Regions from separate parts of the Homo sapiens genome. Here region 2 is linked to region 1. Evidence: promoter capture Hi-C in human tissues and cell types (Jung and others, 2019). All regions are on one chromosome and are shown on one strand. Each heading gives the region's core, a stretch centred on a gene start or on the middle of the fragment in contact. The rest is flanking DNA. Distances are from core to core; before and after follow the strand shown. Region 1 holds the start of GNRH2 (gonadotropin releasing hormone 2). Region 2 overlaps DNAAF9 (dynein axonemal assembly factor 9).

Evidence for each region. The method cuts DNA at HindIII sites, captures the fragments that hold promoters and counts their contacts. A contact is called where the count stands out against the background at its distance.
Region 2: a contact is called between a fragment that was not itself captured here and the fragment with the promoter of GNRH2 in region 1, in 1 of the 25 tissues and cell types used here (lymphoblastoid cells).

What each region holds. Positions count from the first base shown.
Region 1 is chr20:3,038,459-3,045,104 of GRCh38, forward strand. GNRH2 (gonadotropin releasing hormone 2) reads left to right here and starts at 5,164. Exons shown (of 4, transcript NM_178331.2): 1 at 5,164-5,207; 2 at 5,950-6,110; 3 at 6,242-6,378. The coding sequence starts at 5,957. It overlaps PTPRA (protein tyrosine phosphatase receptor type A), which reads left to right. Exons shown (of 24, transcript NM_001385305.1): 24 at 1-211. The HindIII fragment of the contact is 17,170 bases long and covers 2,027-6,646 here.
Region 2 is chr20:3,254,176-3,260,008 of GRCh38, forward strand. DNAAF9 (dynein axonemal assembly factor 9) reads right to left here. Exons shown (of 37, transcript NM_001009984.3): 32 at 5,747-5,833; 33 at 5,305-5,379; 34 at 1,831-2,036; 35 at 1,044-1,109. Among named protein-coding and RNA genes, the nearest start is that of SLC4A11, 18 kb to the left of the region's middle. The HindIII fragment of the contact is 6,428 bases long and covers 1-4,803 here.

The DNA of each region.
Region 1 (6,646 bases), core at 3,914-6,413:
GGCACCAACTAAGAAAAAAAGCACAAAGTTCTCAGAGCTCTCGAGGAAAGTGGTTGTCCCCGTACCACCATGCACTGTAAATATCCCTCCCCTCTCTCCCTGGTCCCCTCCCCCATCCCCACCACTGATATCATGGGGAGTAATAGGACCAGAGCGGTATCTCTGGCACCACACTAGGGACTATCAGGTAATAAAAGCTTTGACTCCCTGAGGAAATGTCTCTCCCTTTGTCTGGGGGTGGGGCAGCCATACAGGCTGGGGCTCTCCTCGGCTGTTCATGGCCCTCCTGTTGCTGTTCTCTCTGAGTTATCTGAGAGAGGCCACAGTCCCCCAGCTCCTCCTGTCCACCAAACACAGCCCTTCCAGTTCTTAGGTGATCTCCAGGACCCTCCTTTCATTCCCAGCACATCTTTGGTTTAGTGGTCCTGGCCAGCCTCCCTCCCTAGGAAGGTGGCCAGGTCCTCACTGAGTCTCCTTAAGGACAGGGGCACAGGGGAGACTAGAGCTGGCTCAGCTTTGGGCTGAGGCCAGTCTGACCTCTCCAGTCTGTGGTGCTTTGCTACAAAACTGTCTGGATTGTGTCACCCTATCTAGGATAAATCTTTATGTCCACATATATTGTGTTGAATTGTTCCCATTTTCTTTCATACGTGTCCTCATTTCTGGGACAGTGTGAATGTTTCTCAGATCTAGAAGTCAGATGGTGGGAGTCTTAGATCCGAACTTGGTTTTGAGTGACATGTTAGACAAAAGTGTTGAACTTTTGTTTCTTAAAGAAGCTGGATGTTCATTTATGTCTCCCGTAACAGTCTGTGCTGTCCAGAGACCCAGTATCCTTAGGATATTATTCTCATCCTCATGGTTGAAGCTGGGTCACTGCCATGTCCATAATCCACCCTGAGGAAAGAGCATGGAGAGCCAGCAGCTTCATTTCTAAGGACAGGAAGCCAAATCTGCACTTTTCACTTCCACTCATAATCCACCCCGCATTCCACTCATCAGCTTCACAAGTAGGTTTTCACCTGGTCATAGCTATGCCTAACTACAGGGAGTGCTGGGGAAGTGTGATCTTTTGTTGGGGGCACACTGGGAGAGTGGGTCTGTCCACTGCCTCCCAGCCTCAGAGCAGCTCACCACAGGAGCAGGAGAGTGAACTCGTGGCTGTGGCTGTCAGGCAGGGCCTTTCTTGAGAGCCAGCGCAGGCCTGGGCTCCTCAGAGGCTTCTGGAGTGAGAGATGGCACCTCAGCCTGGCCCATGGAGGCATGTTCAGGGATCAGCACTACTGTGCTTCTTGGAGGAGGTGGGACTTGAGCTGGACCCATGGGAGGCTGGAAATTTAGATGAGTGAAAAGGAGGAAAGGCGAAGTAGAGCCACATTACAGAGGGCCTCAGAGTCCAGATAAAGCAGTTAACATGTAGTGGCTCCAGGAGGGAAGCCTGTCTGTGCACCACATACCCAGGATGTTTGTGGGAAGGAAGGAGATGTGCGGAAGGGACCCAGGAGACCTGCAGGAGGCAAGGGCTGCAACAGACCCCCTCTGGAAGTTTACAGGAGGTGAGTGTGAGTCATTAGAGACATTCAGTTCTGTAGGAACTAACGAACTCCCAAGAGGCAGTAAACTTAAAACTCAGCAGTCTCGATAAGTATGGATAAATTAGGCAAAGACAGATTCTGAGGAATTTCTGGTGAGGGGTGCCAAGTTTGGGGAGCAGCCCCTGGCTCCTTGCAAGCTACCCTTCAGTGCTCTGTGTGACCAAGTCCAAGTCGATGCAGGAGGGCAGGCACTGGGTCAGCAAGCCACTCAGTGAATGTGCAGGTGAGGCCGTTCATAGGCGCTTGTGTGCCTCCCAGCAGGCTGCCTGCCATTGCCAGGGCTGGCCTTCAGCAGGGTGCGCCACCATGGCCTGAGTGGTTTTCTGCTGAAGTCCGTGCTGATTTGGCCAGTGGATAGGCATCACCTGGGTGCAAAACCATTGTCTCCAGGTAGGAATGACCTCAGCTGTTTGCTCCGTGTCTCGCTCAGCCTGTAGATGTGTCCCTCATCCCTTCATGCCTCCCTCTTCACTCCTCTTTTACTTTCTACTCGGGGCTTGCATGTTTACAAGAGAGGTGAACCCAACAGAAACTAGTATAGGCCAAAAGGAAAATGTGCTGAAGCTCACACAGCACAGTCGTGTGGAAAAGGCAGCAGTGACTGCTTCATCCAGTGCCCTTCCCACAGCCAGTCAGTTGCGACCCAAGGGGCTTAGGGTAGGAGTGTTTCTCCATAGGGGAAGAGTAACAGCCTGCACCCACCACACACCCAAAGCCCTACATCCTGCCACACTGAGACCTCACTTCATTTGGGCGGGTCCCTCCTGGGTTGCAGTTTCCTTCATTGCTCCCCTGTCCCAAATACTCAAGTCTCTCTCATTAAAAATAAAGAGCAGGCCAGGTGCAGTGGCTCACACCTGTAATCCCACACTTTGGGAGGCCAAGGCGGGTGGATCACTTGAGCCCAGGATTCGAGACCAACCTGGGCAACATGACAAGATCCTGTCTCTACAAAAAATAACAAAAATCATCTGGGCATGGAGGCACACGCCTGTAGTCCCAGCTACTTGGGAGGCTGAGGTGGAAGGATCACCTGAGCCCATGAGGTGGAGGCTACAGTGAGCTGTGATCATGCCACTGCACTCCAGCCTGGGTCAAAGAGTGAGACCCTGTCTCAAAAAAAAAAAAAAATAGGCCGGGCACAGTGGCTAATGCCTATAATCCCAGCACTTTGGGAGGCCAAGGCGGACGGATCACCTGAGGTCAGGAGTTCGAGACCAGCCTGGCCAACATGGTGAAACCATCTCTACTAAAAATACAAAAATTAGCCGGGCGTGGTGGCACGTGCCTGTAATCCCAGCTACCGGGGAGGCTGAGGCAAGAGAATTGCTGGAACCTGGGAGGCAGAAACTGCAGTGAGCTGAGATCACGCCACTGCACTCCAGCCTGGATGACAGCGAGACTCCATCTCAAAAAAAAAAAAAGAAAAAGAAAAAGAATTAATTAATTAATTAAATAAAGAGCATGTCTCCCACCCCAGGCCTAAGTTCTTCCCTCTATGAGAGACTACTTGCAGAAACCTGTGTTCTCACTCTTCCCCCTTCCTCACTTCATTCCCACACATTTCTTTTCCATCCCTGCGCACCAAGGTCACCTTGGTGCTAAACACCAGGGACCCATGGTCTCTTCCCCTTTGTGTCACAGGCTGTCCTCTGCCTCTTATCCTCACCCTTTAGCTGCTCCTCCACTGTCTCCTCTCTCAGAGGTCAGGATTCTGGATCTGTCTCTGTGGACCCTCAGCTCTCCTCCAATCCCAAGTCCCCCGCATCCTGGTCGCATGTCAGGGTGGTCCAGAGATGCCTGCCTCCCACTGCCCACACCCAGGGGCCCGCCCTCCTTTCCTCTAACCTTCCCACATACTCTGGCCCCATGGATCCACGGCAGTTCCTGCTGGCCCTTCTCCATTTTGTTCCTTATGCTGCACCCCTCTGCTGCCACTCCCTGCGTCCGTGACTCCAGCTCACTCGTCTCTGTCCTTCACCCAGGCCGCCTGCTCAGGGTTTGTGCCTCTCTGTGCTCCTGCAGCACCTGAGTGTTTATTCACCTCTGAACCTCTGCTTTCCCACCTGAGTACACGCAGCTCCTGGCTGCAGTGACTTCATATCCTGAGGACTGGAGCTCCGTGGTGAACAGATGGCTTTCTATGTTCTAATGAGAGGGATACAAGAGTTCCACAGTTCTAGTCTGGAAAGGACCAAACATTTCTTAAAAGCTAAGTATGTTGCCGGAAAAAAAAGGGAGCAGAGCTTTCCCCAGGAAGCTTGGCTCTGGTTTAGATTTTTCAGGAAAAGCCGGAATCAAATTACAGAATAAATAAAGGCAACCATCCCCCTTTTAAAGGTACACCAGCCTTGGTGCATCTTTGAAGAAAGCATTCTGTAAACCCCAACCAGAACTAAACTAGTACGTCGAACTCAGATTCATTTTCACTAAACCACAAGCAAATGTTTCCCTAAAAATCACCCAGTTAACAAAGTCCGCATATTTAAGCCAAAACAATTTAACTGAACAAATGGGCCACACGTTGATTTCCGGTCCCTGCTAATAAGTCAGTCTGGAAGTTCACAGGTGTGCCCATCCTGCCTTGGCTGCTGAAGTCCAGGTGTCTAGGGCTGACTGATGCCCATTATGCCTCCCCTCCCCCATCTTTGTCACAGGATTTGACGCACCAGCTCTCCAAATGACCCTGGCCCTCCCATTTGCTGTTCAGCCCAAGTGCGGAGATTGGCTATGAACCCTGTAAACAGGCCTCTGACCCCCAGAGGCTGATGGCTGGCCAAGGAAAGCTGAGCTGCTGACGCAGACTGGGAAGCAAGAGCCCACTTCCAGCAGCCCAGGCTAGCTGTGTCCAAATCCATGACTGGGGAGGGGTTAGAGCCTTGAGGGACAAAATTATTCTACCTACCTAGGGAGACTGCACTGGCCCAACAGCTGGGCCCCATCTCATGGGCCCGCTTCTTCGCCAGGAGAGAAGCCACTCCGGGGTAGGTACTGCCCCACCCAAACCCAGCCATCTGGAGTGACCCAGCCCTGGTTCCCAGGTGTGTGGATGTGAATTGTCCCACCCAACCCACTCTACAGTGAGCAAACGGAAGCCCTCTGGGAGAGTGGTCACAGCCTCCCCTGTACCTCTGAACAGCCTGCCAGGCTCCCTACTCTTAGGCTTCCACTGTCCACCAGGGAAAGCCCTGAGCTGGGAGTTGGGGAGCCCCCAGGCATTGCCCCTGCCCAGGACACAATTCTCTTTTGGGATCAGGGAAGGCTGTGAGGGCTTTCTAGGTCTCAAGATCAGGAGCTTGAAGATGCAGCCTGGGAAGTGGGAAGGTGAGACCAGGACATAGGCCAGCCTAAAGCAAGAGTCCTGGGCCTGAAGGCTCCTGGGAAGGTGGTGGGGAGGGAGCATGTGTCGGTGGCCTCAGGGCAGCAGCTGCCTGGTGAATGTTCATGGACTGGATGCTCTGGGAAGCGGGTTGGGTGGTGAGCTTCTCTCTTCCCCTCTGAAGACGTCACTGGAGTCTGGGGGTGGAGCTGCCTGGTCTATAAATCCTGGGGCCATCAGGCTAGGGTCCTGCAGCTGCCTGAAGGAGCCATCTCATCCACAGCTCTTCCTTGGTGAGTGGGGAGCCTTCCCTAAGGGCTAGGACACCTGGACCAAGTTTCATCCTGGGCGTATGGTGTGCTGCTCCTCTTCCCCATTCCCAGGTGCCTCCACCCCTGAACCATGCCAGAGAAGTCCCCTTTTCCTCTCCTCTCCCCAACAGCTCTACCATCTATTCTTGTGCTTGTTGCCCCTGGCATGGGAGGGATAAGGGGTAGAAGCACTTGCCCCCATCAATACCACTCATCCATTCCACATCCCCAACTACTATGGAAGAGATACAGCAGGCCACGGAGAAAAGGGCAGAAGGCCTGCAACTCTGGTTCCCTAGCACTGGTGCTCCAAACACGCCTACATTGAGAACTCCCCTGACCATCCATCTATCCTCCCATCCATTGGCCTGAATTCAGGTCTCTGTTCCCCTCCAACTTTCTTCCACTTCTGGAAACTCCTTGAAGGAAAGATGGATGGACCTGGACAAGTGGGAGGGCCCTCAGAGCTGGCAAGGCAGGTAGCCTCTGTGCCCCAGGCTCAGGGAGAAGGCTCGTCCCCTGGAGCATCATCCCCTGCTGGGCCAGGATCCCCCAGGATCTGGACCCCTGTATGCTTGGGATGAGGAGCGGTGGCAGAGAGGGAAGGGCATAAGGAGATACCAAAGCTGCCCCTGAGATGCCAGTTTTCCAAAGTGGCCCTGGAGGAAGTAGGGGGATGTGGGGGTGAGGTAAGTCTCCTTGAATGCTGTACCCTGTCCATTAGAGCAGCCATGGCCAGCTCCAGGCGAGGCCTCCTGCTCCTGCTGCTGCTGACTGCCCACCTTGGACCCTCAGAGGCTCAGCACTGGTCCCATGGCTGGTACCCTGGAGGAAAGCGAGCCCTCAGCTCAGCCCAGGATCCCCAGAATGCCCTTAGGCCCCCAGGTGGGTGTCTCCCAGCCTCATGGGGAGGAAGAAAGTGATGGCCGGGGGCTCCCCCACCCTCCTGGAGCCTGAGGTCGGGGTAGGGAGGACAGCATCAGTTCCCTTCTAAGGAAGGGCCCTGGACACTGCAGCAGGCAGCCCAGTCCAGACTGCCCATGGCCTCCCAAGTGATGCCCTGGCTCCCCTGGACGACAGCATGCCCTGGGAGGGCAGGACCACGGCCCAGTGGTCCCTTCACAGGAAGCGACACCTGGCACGGACACTGCTGGTGAGTAGGGTGAGAGGTCCCCAGCATCAAGACCAGCCACTGGTCATCAGAGGCCATTGTGGCTTAGGGTTGGGTGCTGGGAGGGTGGGGAGAATGAAACACCACTGAGATGCCCCCTGCCACAGCACCCCCAGCCATTTCTCAGTGCCCCTACTGCACACAGCAGGGTGCTGTCTGCTATCCTTCCTATTTCCCAGGAGGATTCTAGACAATTTACAAAGCACTTGGGTTAAAGACCAAAGTCACTAGTAGACTAGAAGGAGATAAT
Region 2 (5,833 bases), core at 340-2,839, 210 kb after region 1:
TCATGCAATTCTCCTGCCTCAGCCTCCCGAGTAGCTGGGATTACAGGCATGCGCCACCACGCCTGGCTAATTTTTGTATTTTTAGTACAGACAGGGTTTCACCATATTGATCAGGCTGGTCTTGAACTCCTGACCTCAAGTGATCCACCCACCTCAGCCTCCCAAAGTGCTGGGATTACAGGCGTGAGCCACCATGCCCGGCCACAAACACACTCTTTATTGGCTGTTTCCCCCTCTCCTCTTTCATCCTCCTGTTTCCTATTTAGTGTCTCCTAGAATCACTTCCAAAATAAACTACCTGTACTTAACTCCTTGTTCACGGTTGGCTTTCAGGGGAACATGCATTATAAGGACTACCTTATGCCCATGTTGTCCTCCCCAGGAGCACCCAGGTTGTCCGGGCCTATAGGAGCTGTTTATGAAAGGGGCCTCCTCAAATCCAAAGCAGGGGCTCCTGGAGTCCCAGAATACTTTCCTGCCCCACCTGCTCATTACTGGCATCCTGGGGACCTAGACTCTGTGTCCTTTTTAGCTTTTTGTCCCCAAACCCCTCAGGAAAAGGCCCCAGTGAGCATGGCGACTGAAGCAGAGGCTGGGGGTCAGAGCCTGGAGGCTGGGAGGCTCATCAAGGGGGTCTCTCAATCAGCCTCTTATCCTGGCCTCAGGTTCCACAGCCTTCCTATGAGCAGCCTCTGGATCCAGACAGTTTTTGCCTGGGCTCTAGCTGGTTCATCTGTAACATAGGTCTTCTGCAGTTGCTTGAACAAGGTGCCAAGGCAGGGCTTCTGGTCATCAGCTTCTCCCACAAGTACTGGCTCTACTCAATCTGATGCCCAGGTCACACCAGAGGTCTCCTGTGCCCTCCTCACTGAGGCTGCAAAGGCCAGAATTCTGTACGCAGCTTCCCTCTGTGGCCTGGGAGAAGCAAGACCTCCAGCATGTCCTACAAACAGCTCCTCACTCAGAGAATCCAAAATACAGAGCTAGGCAAGCCGAGGACAGCCCTGGGCCACCGAGGGGAGAAGCCAGGGCAAGGCACTCACGTGGATGCTCCTGATCTCCTGTTGCGTCAGCATCCCCCTGGTCTTCAGGGCTTTCCTCTGAGGCTTCTGCAGAGATGGGGAGTGGAGGGTCAGGTCCCAGCAGAACTCATGGAGTGCATGGGCAGGGGAGGGCTCTGGGCTCTATTACACAACTAAGATCTCAGCAGTGGGGAAAGCACGTGCGCTATGGCCTGGATATAATATTCTGTCTAGTCTGCTCTTTGAGAAAACCACTTTCCCATCACAGAGCCCTGTGAGCCAGCAGGGAACAAGCAGCAGAGGACAGCCCAGTGTTTTCGTAAATGGGAATGGTCGTGCCTCTTTGTAGATTCTTATCCCTCAACCCTACCAATGAGAGGCAGACAAAGGGGCAGTCTGAGGCCCCACAGTCAAGAACCGTTTAGAAGCTTATCCAAGTGAGGCAGCCCATCCCTCAGCATAAAGACAGGTCCCTAGTGAGCATCTGCAGAAGAGCCAGGCCCCAGCTAACTCTAGTCCCAGAGTTCTAGGATGAACTAAACCCCCAAGGCTGTGCTACAAGGCTTAGCACCCAAACCTTGCAGAGAACCTGGCTCACAAAGCAAACAACATAGCAGGCCTGCCTGGAGTTTGCTCTCAGTGGCTTCCTCCCTCTCTCAAAGTGTCCCTGCAAGTGCTGGCTGGGCCAGGGAGAGGAAGCCCAGTGGGGAGGCATCAGGGAGGCAGTGGCGGGGCTTCTCAGGGCCAACAGCAGCTCTGAGGTGTCTGGTCACATCTGTGTCAGGTCTGTCTGGGCTCTGGAAACCACCTGCTTAGCTGACTGCCGCAGCCAGTCCTTGATGCTGTCTTCCTTCAGGGAGCAGCCGATGAACACAAGGTAGCACTCCTGCTGCCCGCTGCTGTCTTGAGATACGCTTTTGGAGTCTGGTGGTGGTGTGGGTCCTTCCAAAACTGGCATGATGCTCAAGGAGTTGGCCAGTGTGTTGTAGCAGACCTCCATGGTCCTCTCAGAGTCTGTAAGGAGAATACACATTAGTCCCTGAGAGCCTGCCTTGAAAGGATACAGCTATGCTAAGACTGTGACAATGCAGATGGTTGGGATAGATTCATGAGAAAATGCAAGAGACAGAACTGATGTGACTGGTGGCAGCTTAGAAAGGATGGAGTAGGTGGGCACAGTGGCTCATGCTTGTGGTCCCAGCTACTCAGGAGGCTGAGGCAGGAGGAGCACTTGAGCCCAGGAATTCAAGGCTGCAGTGAGCTGAGATTGCGCCACTGTACTCCAGCCTGGGTGACAGAGGGAGATCCCATTTTGTTTTGTTTTTTAAAAAGGAAAAGAAAGGATGGAGTAAGAGAGAGAGACAGAGAGGAACAAAATAAGTTTCTGGCTTGGCTGATCTGGGTGATCAGGTGGACACTATTATCCCAGAAGGGAAACACAAGAGAAAAAAAAGGTTTATAGGTGGGAGAAGAGGAAGAGTTTGACTCTGCACTTGTGGCATTTGAAAGTCTCTAAGACCCTGAGCGTGAGACATCCACATAGTCCCTGGTGGTTGCTGGAATAGCTGTTATGGAAGAGGTGGTTGAGGAAAAGCAAAGAAACCCCCTTGGTAGAAGTGGGGGGCTCTCAGCAGAGGCCTCAGAGGCCAAGGGAGGAGGGCACAGCCAACAGTACAACAAAAAAATTAGCTGGGTGTGATGGTATGTTCCTGTAGTCCCAGTTACTTGGGAGGCTGGGGTGGGCAGTGACCTAGGATTGCACTACTGCACTCCAGCCTGGGCAACAGAGCAAGACCCTGTCTCAAAAACAAAACAAAACAGACAAAAAAACCAGTACAGCAGTGTTGCACGAAGGTCACACAGATGAGAATGGGAAAAAGTGTTACATGCTAAGGAGATGAGGGCTAGGAGTGACTGGAGACCCAAGAAGTGGGCAAGGGCTCCCTGAAAGGCAGGATGAGAAAGGATCCGGAAAAAAGCGAGGTTAAATTTGAACAAAAAAAGAGTCAATAGCAGATCTAAATAAACAAGAGGCTGGGTGTGGTGGCTAATACCTTAATTCCAGCACTTTGGGAGGCCGAGGCAGGAGGATCACTTGAGCCCGGGAATTCGAGACCAGCCTGGGCAACATAGGGAGACCTTGTCTCCACAAAAAAGAAAAAAAATCAGCCAGGCATGGTGGTTCACGCCTATAGTCCCAGCTACTTGGGAGGCTGAGGTAGGATGATCGCTTGAGCCTGGGAGGTCAAGGATGCAGTGAGCCGAGATCAAACCACTATACTCTGGATTAGGTGACAAAGTGAGACATTGTCTCAAAAAATAAAAAGAAGAAAGAAATAAAAATATTTATTTATTTATTTTATTGAGACGGAGTTTCACTCTGTCGCCCAGGCTGGAGTGCAGTGGCACAATCTCGGCTCACTGCAACGGCCGCCTCCTGGGTTCAAGTGATTCTCCTACCTCAGCCTCCCAAGTAGCTGGGATTAAAGGCATGTGCCACCATGCCCGGCTAATTTTTTTTTTTGAGACAGAGTTTTGCTCTTGTTGCCCAAGCTGGAGTGCAGTGGTACAATCTTGGCTCACTACAACCTCCATCTCCCAGGTTCAAGTGATTCTCCTGTCTCACCCTCCCAAGTAGCTGGGATTACAGCTAGGTGGTGTCCTACAGTAGGTGGGTGTCCGCCACCACACCCAGCTAATTTTGTATTTTTAGTAGAGACAGGGTTTCACCATGTTGGTCAGACTGGTCTCAAACTGCTGGCCTCAAATGATCTGCCTGCCTTGGCCTCCCAAAGTGCTGGGATTACAGGTGTGAGCCACCGAGCCTGGCCTAATTTTTTTTATTTTTTGTAGAGATGGGGTTTCACCATATTGGCCAGGCTGGTCTCGAACTCCTGACCTCAAGTGATCCTCTTGCCTCGGCCTCCCAAAGTGCTGGGATTACAGGCGTGAGCCACTGCACCCAGCCAAAAAAGAAATAAAAAAAAAGAAGAAAAGGAGGTGATGGGTGAGAGGGAAAAACAAAAGTACCAAGACCTCTGAAGCAGCAGGGGCTGGCTGTTGGAGCCTGAGATTAGTGGGCTTGGGTGTGGGGCCGAAGTTTCTGATTTGATCACATAAATCAAGCAAAAGCTATGAGCTAAGGACCCATGTAATTCTCCCATCTGAACCATGATGGTTCTATGCTTGGAGCCCTCAGTGGTCCCCTACAGCAGAAACTGATAGCTGCCGACCCCCCATATTGTCTCCCTCTTCTTCCAATACCAATACCCCATGGGTGATGGGTCCAGAAAGGCACAGCAATCCAATGAGATAAGTCGGCAGAGAAATTGGGGGAGGCGCTGCACTGACAAAGGCACCCACAGGAAGAGCCAGCCTCTCCTCATTGGCTGGATGCAGTGTCTGGCTTTGACACCCAGACCTGTAGCACCACTTGGCAACCATAAGGGGCAGGAACCTGAAAGACAAGCTGACACACCAAGAAGGGGAGGACACGAAGACATACATCACCTGGCTCCTCAGTGGCCTTGCTCTGCTGCTTGAGCGCCTCACTTGTTATACAGCCAACACCTGCTAGCTGAGTGGGGGTTCTCTGTGATAACAGCTGAAGACACCCTAACAGACGCACTCCCTCTCTCCCTACTCCCAGGCTCCAGTTACGGTAAATGCTTTTTGGTTCCTGAAATGTGTCTTTTCTGCCTCTGGATTATAGCAAATGCTATTTCCTTCCCCTGGAATACTGTACCTTTCCTCAACATTGAGTTGACTGACTCCTACTGGTTTTGAGGCCTTCTCTGATGCCCACTCCAGGACAGCAAGGGCTCCAGAGGTCTAAACTGATCCTCAGGCCTACTAGTCAGAAGAGAGGAGAAGGCAAACAGAAGCTCAAAGACTTTGGTCAGAAATGGATCTAGAGCTGAAGAGCTCAGCACTGGGGCAGCTCCTGGTTTTAGGTCTAGAGGAGGCCATGACTGGCTCAAGAGGTGTGGAGTGTAAGGCTCTGAACAAGAAGGTCAAAAAGCTGTGAGAAGAGCCCCTGAGCAGGTCATCCAGGCGAGGAGGGCAAACCTCTGCCATGGAACAGGAGGACCCAGACTAAGTAGGCCCTTGGCGGAGAGGGGTGATGGACAAGCCTGATGGCGTGAAGGCCCAGGGTGGGGAAGGTTTCTGAGAGTCTGAGCAGCATCAGTGGTCTGCAGAGCACCAGCAGAGGCTCTGAACTCACATCATGAGATGCAAGCACTCCATGGTGTAGAGCTCCCAAATCCCAGCCCCTGGTTACCTGAAAACTTCACTTTGCCCAGGATGTGGTAGATGTTTCCGGAGAAGGGACTTGGCTTGATGGAGGACTGAATTGCTGGTGGAAGAAGAGGACAGCGCTGTCACCCACATGGAGGCACAGGCCAAATTCAGGACAGCACAGCTGGGAGTTTTAGGGACTGGGGAGGGACCATACACCAGGGTCTAGGGTTCACAGGTTCTACCCGCCACACCCTGTTGCTCCCCTGTGGCTCTGCCACTGTTCCCAGGGGAGGGAAAACCCTTTCACTGGAGTGGAGACCAAATTGTGTGACCACCCACAATCCTCAAATCCCTCTGTCTACTTTTGGTTTCAAAAGGTAAGAAGACATACAGCACATAGAATACTGAAATGGTACCAGGAGGCAGAATTAACTCTGGGACACCCTTTTTCCAGTGTCTAGGACATCTCAGTCAAGGCTTACCTTTACATTTGGCCACAAAGCGAGTCTTCTCCAAGGGACGGCCAAACCATACGCAGATCTGAACCATTAGGGGATAGACTGATCCAG